Linked DNA regions of Homo sapiens: region 1 is linked to region 2. Evidence: promoter capture Hi-C in 16 types of primary human blood cells and fetal thymus (Javierre and others, 2016). All regions are on one chromosome and are shown on one strand. The core of a region is centred on a gene start or on the middle of the fragment in contact, and the rest is flanking DNA. Distances in the headings are between cores, read along the strand shown. Region 1 overlaps EYA2 (EYA transcriptional coactivator and phosphatase 2). Region 2 holds the start of EYA2 (EYA transcriptional coactivator and phosphatase 2).

Region 1 (5,069 bases), core at 1,764-4,263, 260 kb after region 2:
ATATATATATATATATATATATATATATATATATATATTAGCCGGGCATGGTGGTGCATGCCTGTAGTCCCAGCTACTCGGGAGGCTAAGGCAGGAGAATTGCCTGAGCCCGGGAGACAGAGGTTGCAGTGAGCCAAGATAGCACCACTGCACTCCAGCCTGGGCAACAGAGCAAGACTCCATCTCAAAAAATAAAAAAATAAGGAAAGAGCCTTTCAGGAGAAACAAGGTAACGCTAAAGATCTTTGGCAAAAGGTATCCCTAGCCTGACGCAGGAATGGCCAGGCATTCGGGCAGGCTGGAAGGGGAGCATTTCAAGATGCAGCCAGGGCTTTAGGAAAGACCATGCCGGAGAGACTCAGAAGTTGCTGAAATCAGGGCAGCCATGGCTGCTTGCCTGACACATGAGCCTGGTTGCTAAACGTGTGATTTATCCTGATAGCTTTAGGAGCCATCAGGAAAATAATATGTCACTGTGTTAACACTGAACTCTCTCCAAAGCATCCTGCCCAATGGTCATTAATACAATTCAGGCCACAGCCTCTTTAGCGCTCTTAAGATAAGTTAAACACTTAGCACAAGAGATGTGGCCCAGGTTTCCCTCCCAGGGAGTAGACTCCTCTCTGGCTAGTCTGGAGGCAGCATTAAGCAATCTCACTTGAAAAATATACCTGCCTCAGAGGAGAAGGAGCAGCCAGGAAGTTCATCGGGGCCCTGATGAGCATCATTTTTCTAACGCAAATTTGTCAACAATTTCTGCATTCATGTCTCCAAGCAGCCAAAGACAAAAAGTAATGGAATCAAACCACAGCAGGAGAGTTTGAGAAACCCCAGCTGTCACCAGCTCAATCAGAACAGGTTTTGATAAGTATTTGTCACTGAGTTTACTGATCAGCAACGTGCAACAACAGTAATACTAAGTATCGGCTGGGGATGGTGGCTCATGCCTGTAATTCCAGCATTTTGGGAAGCTGAGGAGGGCAGATCACTTGAGGTCAGGAGTTCGAGACCAGACTGGCCAAGATGGTGAAACCTCATCTCTACTAAAAATACAAAAATTAGCCAGGCATAGTGGTGCACGCTGTAGTCCCAGCTACTCAGGAGGCTGAGGCAGAACAATCACTTGAACCCAGGAGGCGGAGGTTGCAGTGAGCCGAGATTGCACAACTGCACTCCAGCCTTGGTGACAGAGCAAGACTCCGTCTCAAAAAAAAAAAAAAAAAAAAAAAAAAAGAGTACTAAGTATCATACCTGTGGGATGCAGAAGGGCAGTCCAGATTGGCATTTACAGTCCTAAATGACATTTGTTAGAAAAACAGGAAAATTCATAAGAATAATTGGAAAGACCGTTAAAATAGATAAGGCTTTAGCAAGCTTAATCAAAGGGGAAAAGAGAGAGATCAATAAACAACATCCAGAATGAAAGGGTGGACATTACTAAAATCCAGGGGAGGTTGTTTCTTTTAATTACAAGAATGCCAGGCACACTGTTTTACCAATGAATTTGAAAATCTAGGTGAGATTGACACTTTTCAGGAAGACACAAATTACTGAAATTAGCCCAAGTGGAAATAAAAATAAATACAACAAACCAAAGATCATGAAAATTTGTTAAATCATTAAAGAGAAAGTGCGTTTTTGGTGCCCCCACCAAAAAAGGCACCAGGTCCCACTGGTTTTAAACAAGAGTTCCAACAAAACTTCAAGGAAAGGATAAATCTCATCCAGCATAAACTACAGAGCAAAGAAAAAGATGGAATGCTCTCCCACACATTTTATAAGACTAACATCACCCTAAAGCTGACACTGGAGTTACAGCGCATATGACAAATGGACAAATTGCGGTCGTCGCTGCTGAAGTTGGAAGGCCCCTGCGATCCCAGCACCTACCTTCATCCATGCCCTGTGACTCTTTACAGAAGTTTTCTGCAGATCCTGTCTGAGCTTTAGTTTCCACACTGGTGAAAAGAGGGGTCTGGACTATAATTGGTATCATTTATTTGACACCTGCCCCTTGCCTCGTAACACACCTGCAAGCAGATAGAATAACCATATTTTGTAATTTTTTAAAAAACACTGAAGACTGTCTGGGTGCAGTGGCTCACGCCTGTAATTTCAGCACTTTGGAAGGCCCAGGTGGGTGGGATTACCTGAGGTCAGGAGTTTGAGACCAGCCTGGTCAACATGATGAAACCCCATCTCTACTAAAAATACAAAAAATTAGCCAGATGTGGTGGCAGGCATTTGTAATGCCGGCTACTTGGGAGACTGAGGCAGGAGAATCGCTTGAACCCAGGAGATGGAGGTTGCAGTGAGCCGAGATCACCCCACTGCACTCCAGCCTGGGTGACAAGAGTGAAACTCTGTCTCAAAAAAAAAAAAAGGAAACTGAAGACCTTGCTGTGTTACCTGAGCCCAGGAACGATGACACCCTTGTAGCAATGAGGATACTCAGATAACAGTTTCTAATACCACGCTGCAAGAAAAAGGAACCAGAGCTCCATGGAGAAATGGCTGATTCTAGGGCTGGGCCAAGAACTATATGATTATCCCAGAGCATCTTTTAGCACCGTAAAGTAAGGAATTGCTCAGGAAAACCCAAAGTGATACGTTATGCCAGAGGAACACAGGATCCAACTGAAAAGAGTTCCCAATGGCCAAATCCAGAAAGATAAAAAGAACAACAAAATAAAACAAAAGCTGGAGTAATAAAATAAATAATATAATATCAGATCCCAATGGCCAAATCTGGAACAATAAATAAAAAGGAGAGCAAAATAAAATAAAAGCTGGAATAATAAAATAAATAATGTAATATCAGATTCTAACCCAAAGTATAAAATAAGTATGTATGAGTCTATGCTGATGTAGATAAATGATTGCATAAATAAATAAGTGGGGAGACTAAACAAATCTCCCACACAGAAAAATTCCAGGTAACTTATGTAGATACTACACCCATAGTGTGAGCCACGCATAGTGACTTCTTTCCAAAGAGTACAATATAGATGAGGGGAATAGTAACTTCGGAGTGGAGAACCCTGATGAAGACCACCTGAGCCAGGTGATCAAGGTCAACATCAACAGTGATTAGTCATGTTGATAATATTTACCCTTGATGTGATATGAAGAGAATGGCACTCCCCATCTGTGACCTTCCCAAAACCCAGGAACCCGGTGTCATCATGAGAAAAACATCGGAAAAATCCCAGTTGACAAACATTTTACAAAATACCTGACCAGTTCTCCTTCACACCGTCCTCAAAAGCAAGGAAAGCCTGAGAAACTGTCACAAACCAGAGAAGCCTAAGGAGACAGGACAACTACGTGTCATGTGATATCCACCTTGGATCCTGAAACAGTCCAAGAACAGTACAGGGAAAGCCTTAAAAATCTGAATAAGTAATTGACAGTAGTTAACACAGCACTATCTGCTTATTAGTTTTGACAAATGCAGCATACTAATGTAAGAAGTTAACAAAAGGAGAAAGTGGGTGTGGGGTGTATGGGAACTCTCTGTACTATCTTTGCAACTTTTCTGTAAATCTAAAACTATTCCAGGCCAGCCACGGTGGCTCATGCCTGGAATCCCAGCACTTTGGGAGGCCAAGGTGGGCGGATCACTTGTGGTCAGGAGTTCGAGACCAGTCTGGCCAACATGGTGAAACCCTGTCTCTACTAAAAATACAAAAATTAGCCAGGCATGGTGGCGCATGCCTGTAATCCCAGCTACTTGGGAGGCTGAGGCAGGAGAATCACTGACCTGAGAGGCGGAGGCTGCAGTGAGCTGCAGGAAGCCACTGTGTGGGCAGTGTAGTGAGGAGAGGGTAGGAGATGAGGTCAGGGAGGTGATGAACCTGAGGGTGGGCAGACCACATGGAGCCAGGTTCCACTGTGAGGACTGTGCTTTTATTTGGAGGGAGGTGATATCCATTGTGGGGATTTGAGCAGGAGCGGGACGTGATCTGACTTAGGGTTGAACAGGATCCCTCTGGCTGCTGGCTGGAGACTAGGCTGGGAGGATAGGGGCTAGATAAGGATAGGAGCAGGAAGAGTGAGGAGGTGACTGTAGTAGCCTACACCAGGGGTCAACAAACTTCTGTAAAGGACCAGATAGTAAATATTTTTGGCTTTGCACATCATAGTGGACCTGTCTCAGCTACTCAGTTCTCCTGCAGTAGCACAAAAGCTGCAGCAGACAGGATGTAATTGCATGAACATAGATGTGTTCTAATAAAACTTTATTTACACAAACAGGCGACAGGCCAGATTTGGCCCCTGGGTTATAGCTTACTAACCTCTGATCTAGGTGGGAGATGATGGTGGTTTGGACCACGGTGGGGCGGGGGGCGGTGCGGGCAGTGGAGGAGGTGAGAATGGTCAGATTGTGGGTATATGTCGAAGGGAAAGCCAACAGGATTTGGTGATGGATGGGTGGCAGGATGTCAGAGAGAGGAGACGGGGATAACTCCAAGACACATGCAGTGCCTAGGCCAGTGTTGGGAACATAGAAGGTGATCAGTGTGTACGCATCTTGAATCAGCAATTTGGTATTTCATGCCTCTTTGCCTTGTCTTTTCCAGTGACATGATAGGCACTGTGAGGGCAAGAGCCAGATTTCATCCTTGAAGCCTCCCCTCTCTTTTTTTTTTTCAAGCTTAATTCACTTTATTTTTCTTGTATAAAAACCCTATGTTGTAGCCACAGCTGGAGCCTGAGTCCTCTGCACAGAGACTCTGATGGGGTCTTGACAAGGTAGTCAGTGAATTCCTGACCTGAATTCCTGAATTCTAGGGAGACTTGGTGAATACAGTCTCCTTCCAGAGGTTGGGGGTCGGGTAGCTGTAGGTCTTAGAGATAGCATCAAAGGTGGCCTTGGCGAAGTTTCCCAGGGTGGCAGTGCAGCTGCGGCGTAGCAGTCATAGATACCCGCCATCAGCAGCAGCTTTTGGGCATGGGGACCGAGATGATGCCAGTGCCCCTGGGTGCAGGGATGAAGTGCACCAGCACAGAGCCACAGTGGCCTGTCACCTTACAAGGGACGGTGTGGGGCTTGCCGATCTTGCTCC
Region 2 (4,781 bases), core at 2,229-4,728:
CAAGCACAGTGGCTCACGCCTGTAATCCTAGCACTTTGGGAGGCCAAGATGGGTGGGTCACCTGAGGTCAGGAGTTCAAGAGCAGCCTGGCCAACATGAAGAAACCTTGTCTCCACTAAAAATACAAAACTTAGCTGGGCGTGGTGGCACATGCCTGTAATCCCAGCTACTTGGGAGGCTGAGGCAGGAGAATTGCTTGAATCCAGGAGGTGAAGGTTGCAGTGAGCCAAGATCACACCATTGCACTCCAGCCTGGGCGACAGAGTAAGGCTCCTTCTCAAAAAAAAAAAAAAAAAAAAAAAGGCAGATGCCACAGTTCCACCCCAGAGTCTGGTTTAATTGGTCTAGGATGGGGACTCAGCATGGAGATTTTTAAAAGCTCTCCCTGGAGATTCTGTGCACCCAGAGTTGAGAATCACAGCGCTAAGAGAAGGAAAAATAAAATTAATAAGCACCTGCCTCCTGCTTATCTCTCAGGGTCGTTGGGGTGTGTCTGTAATTTATGAAATAATGGGCCAGATTCTGGGGAAGGAATAAAATGGTATGAAGGAAATAGATTAACCCTTTGCATTCTATAGGGTACCTTTGGTTAACAAGTGTTCAAGATTTTTCCCCATGAGCCACAGGAAGAAACATTTCACATCCTGACCAAAGATATAGATATAGATATGGATATAGATATAGATACAGATACATGTGTGTATATATATATGTATGTATGTATACGTATATATGATATACGTATACATATATACATATATATCTCTCCATTGTAAATTGAAAATATCCTAAGTTCAAAATGCATTTAATACGCCTAACCTACTGAACATCATAGCTCAGCCTAACCTACCTTAAATGCACTCAGAACACTTGCATTACCTCGCAGTTGGGCAAAATCATCTAATACAAAGCCTATTTTATAATACAGTTTTGAATATCTCATGAAATTTATCAAATATTTTGCTGAAAGTGAAAAATAGAATGGTTGTATGGGTATCTCAATTGTGGTTTCTACTGAATACACATCACTTTCACATCGTCATAAAGTCAAAAAAATCATTAAGTGAAACCATCATAAATTGGGGACCATATGTATACATTTAACTATATATAGGGGATCATATGTATATATGTAACTATATATGTATAGGTATGTATATATATTCTTACTGCATACAATTCACTTGATATTTCCTATTCCAGTCTATTCCTTTAGGAAAAAAAAATTAAGGTTCACAGGCCAAGACAAATTAAACACCTCTGAAGGTCATTAAGATGCTCAATTTATAATGACTTGGAGCACTTAGCAAAGATACTATGGGAAGTGAAGCTGTGTGTACAGTAATAATATTTGTTGAGCAATTGCTAGTGCCAGCTGCAGTCATAGTAGAAAGTGTTTTATGAGCATGAGCTCCATGAATTTTCACAATAATAGTATAAGATGAGTACTGTTATTTTCACTTTAGTGATGAGAAAATCAAGGCCAAGTACATATGTACATTCTGCCTCTAGAAGACAGAAGCAGAGCCATCTCCAAGCCTACTGCGGCAGGCCCAGAGAAGAGAACAACCATGTTTACTGAATACATTTGCTTCTGTCTGAAGTTTGGGGAGTAGAAAGCGGAGTAAGCTATGACCAGAGGTGGGTCTGGGAATGGTGAGGCCTGATACATGTATAATTTGCAGCCCCTATTCAAGAAAAAGAGTACAAAATTATGAGTCCAAGATTAGATAAGAAAATGATTATTTCTTTAAATTAAGAAAAGAAATCACAACAAATTCAAATTTTAAGAAGCTGAAAATTACCACAAACATCACAAAATTCCCAACTCAACTTTCCTCCAAAATGCCAGCAGCCACCTGACACCACCCTACTCAAGGGCAAGTTGGGGGTGGGGAATCGGAGTGGAAAGACAGCGGTGTCTACGGCCTGCAGCCAAATGTCCAAAGCAAAGGACTTTTGTAAACTTTACATCAACAAGCCACCATCTGAACACTTTTCTAAGTCCCCTTAGAAAGGGGTCCAAGCAAGTCAGGGGCCCAAGAACTTAACCTTCATCAGCTCCTGTAAACTTACAACTGGAATTGAAGACTGTTACGGCTCAAGAGCAACGGCTTTGGAGTCAGCCAGGCCTGAATTTCATTCCTGGCTCAGCCACTTTCTGCCTTCTTTGAGCTTGGACCTGCTCATTTGTGAAATGAGTGTGCTGACAGCAGCTACCTTGGGGTCTCTCTTGGGGATTACATGAGATAAGGAAGAGTTGGGCATTGGATGAGCTTAAGGTTGCAAATAAAAATATAGGACCCCCGGTTACATTGGAATTTCGGAGACAAAAGAAATACTTTTTAAATATAAGTACGTACAACCAATCGCATAAGACATATACTGCAACTGATTCCTCGTTTCTCTGAAATTCAAATTCACCTGGGTGCCCTGTCTTTTACTGCACTTAAGAAATGACAGTGGTTGATATTGCTTTTGGATTGAAGCATCCTGGGTGTCCCACGGTGGAATTCATAGACATTAGAGAGTGGGTGACGGGCTAGGAAAGGCTGCATAGACTCCAATTAACACAGTTCATTGCCAGGGAGACTAAAAGGGGGGTGGCTATGAGAGGATGGAGTAAGTGGGGTGCCTTGATTTGGGCATGTAGGTGGAGGGGGCTATACCTCTCACTTTCACTAAACCAGTTAAGCTCTTGAGACCTCAGTTTCCTTAGCTGTAAAATGGGTGAAACATAGGGGAGACCCCTGAACCGTTCTCACCTAAATACCACACCAATGGCACTTCCTCATAATTCAGATGTCACCTCCTCAGAGAGGTCTTCCCTGACTGCTCTAGCTAAAATTACCGCCTCTCCTCCACTCCCCAACAGCAGATACATATATTATTTTTCTCCCTGTAACTCTAACTTTCTGAAACTGTCTTGCTTCTTTACTTGGTTATTTGTTTATGGTTTGCCTCTCCATGTGAATGCAAGTTCCGGGAGGGCAGAAAACTAGTCTGTCTTGTTCTAGCTGAGTCTCTCAGGAGTGGTACCTGGCACAGTAGATGCTCAATATATTTTGAATGAATGAATGGGTGGTTGAGTGAACGAATGTTAGTGTCACTATTGAGGTCCTCTCCGAGCCGTCGTTCCTTTCACAGGGGTCATGCCTGGGTTGCAGGGAGGATGTGCTGCCCCGGGGAGGGAGGAGGTGCGGGGTGTCGGTGGGTGGGGAGGAGGCTGGGCCCTGGCCTCCAGGACCGGCGAGAGTGAGCGCGCTCTGCTCGGCTGCAGGCTCAGGAAGCGGCGCGGCGGCACGTGCTGGGCCAGAGCCCCGCGCCCTGCGTCCAGCCGCCGGGTGTGTGCGCCCGCGTAGCCCAGCGTCGCGCCTCGGCGCCCCCACGCGCCCACGCAGCGGCGCGGGGACCCGGGCGGGGGCAGAGGGAGGGCCCGGCCCAGGGAGGAGAAGGGGCCGGTCCTCCCGGCGCAGGCAGCAGCCGCGGCAGCCCAGGAGGCGGAGGCAGCGGCAACGGCAGAGACAGCAACGTGCCCGCCGCAGTCAGCCCGGCCTCGTCGGACCCGCACCGGCCCGCCCGCCCGCCCGCACCGCGTCGGGGCGCCCTCTCCACTGCGCGCGGTGAGTACCGCCAGCGGCGCCCACCCCAGGCCGCCCGCCGGGATTCGCCGGGCGGGGGGAGTTGTTCACCGGGACCCCCTCGCCCTGCGCCTCTTTCTGGCACTCGCCAAGCGGGGCCTCCGCAGCTGTCGGGACGTTCTGGGGCGCACGGGCCTCCCAGGGCCAGGAAGGCACAAGGGCAGAGGGGACAGCAGCAGAGCCCCCCTCTGGAAAGGCTCTCCCAGGCTCGGGGCCCCAGTTTCCCCATGCGCTTTGGGGCAACGACCCTGAAGTTTGCTCTCCCGCGCGCGGGACAAGTGCATGGCGCGCAGGCGGTGTAGACGCGGCTGGGTCCTTGGCGTTTTGTTCGATTATGGTCCCGGCGGTTCGCGATAAGGGGCGCTCCCCCAGTCCGCAAACTCAAGCCCTCAGGTAGTGTTTATGGGATAACCAAGAAGCAGAGCCAACCGCTGGAATCCCGGCTTGGGGCTGGAACGGCCCGCTGAGACTTTGCCTTCTAGCTATTGATATATTTCTTTTCAAAAGTCCGTTTGCGCTCGGCCCGCTCTGGTTCAGGTCTGGGGCTTTGAACCGGGGCAGGGAATCCTGGCGCCTGCTGCGGGTAGAGTTGAAACTTAGAAAAGTTTACATCCGAAGGGTGTTTAGAAGGCGGCAAGGATTTCGTTGTAATGGGAGAAAGTGGGAAATGGAATTGTTTTTTAGTCATGAAGTCTGGAGGTTAAACGGCCGTGCTGGCCCAGGCTCCTTCAATATATTCCTGCCTGCCTCCCCCCCAGCAATAAATAGTTTATAAGCTCAAGGAATACTAGGAAAGCGTGACTGGTGAACGTACTCCTATCGCAAAAGACTCAGTGCGCTTTTCTCAGCTGTTGAACTGGAAGCGCCTTTTGCAGTGCGAGGTTCCTGCTTCCCCGAAGCCGAGGCTGAGAGTTGACAGCGTGCACCCTGCCGCGGTCTGAATTCTTTTTAAAAAGCAAGACCGATGCTGCGTTTTTATGGATACCCTTTTCTTTTCTTTCCCCTTCCCCGAAATGCTATGTAATCTTCAATTACTTTTTAAAATATAACGTGGAGGTATAAATCACCCCGGTAAGAGGTACCTTTTAATTACGAGGTGCAGTGGAAGAGCTGAACATTGGAATCTAGCTGTTAGCGAGG

The links. Contacts are between HindIII fragments. The CHiCAGO score rates a contact against its expected background, and 5 or more counts as called.
Region 1: a fragment that was not itself captured here is called in contact with the fragment with the promoter of EYA2 in region 2 in 1 of 17 cell types (M2 macrophages); the score reaches 5.0 in M2 macrophages.

What each region holds. Positions count from the first base shown.
Region 1 is chr20:47,156,148-47,161,216 of GRCh38, forward strand. The region is part of intron 10 of EYA2 (EYA transcriptional coactivator and phosphatase 2); the gene reads left to right. It also overlaps the pseudogene RPS2P54. Among named protein-coding and RNA genes, the nearest start is that of MIR3616, 8.3 kb to the right of the region's middle. The HindIII fragment of the contact is 3,283 bases long and covers 1,373-4,655 here.
Region 2 is chr20:46,891,365-46,896,145 of GRCh38, forward strand. It overlaps EYA2 (EYA transcriptional coactivator and phosphatase 2), which reads left to right and starts at 3,479. Exons shown (of 16, transcript NM_005244.5): 1 at 3,479-3,623. The HindIII fragment of the contact is 20,535 bases long and covers 1-4,781 here.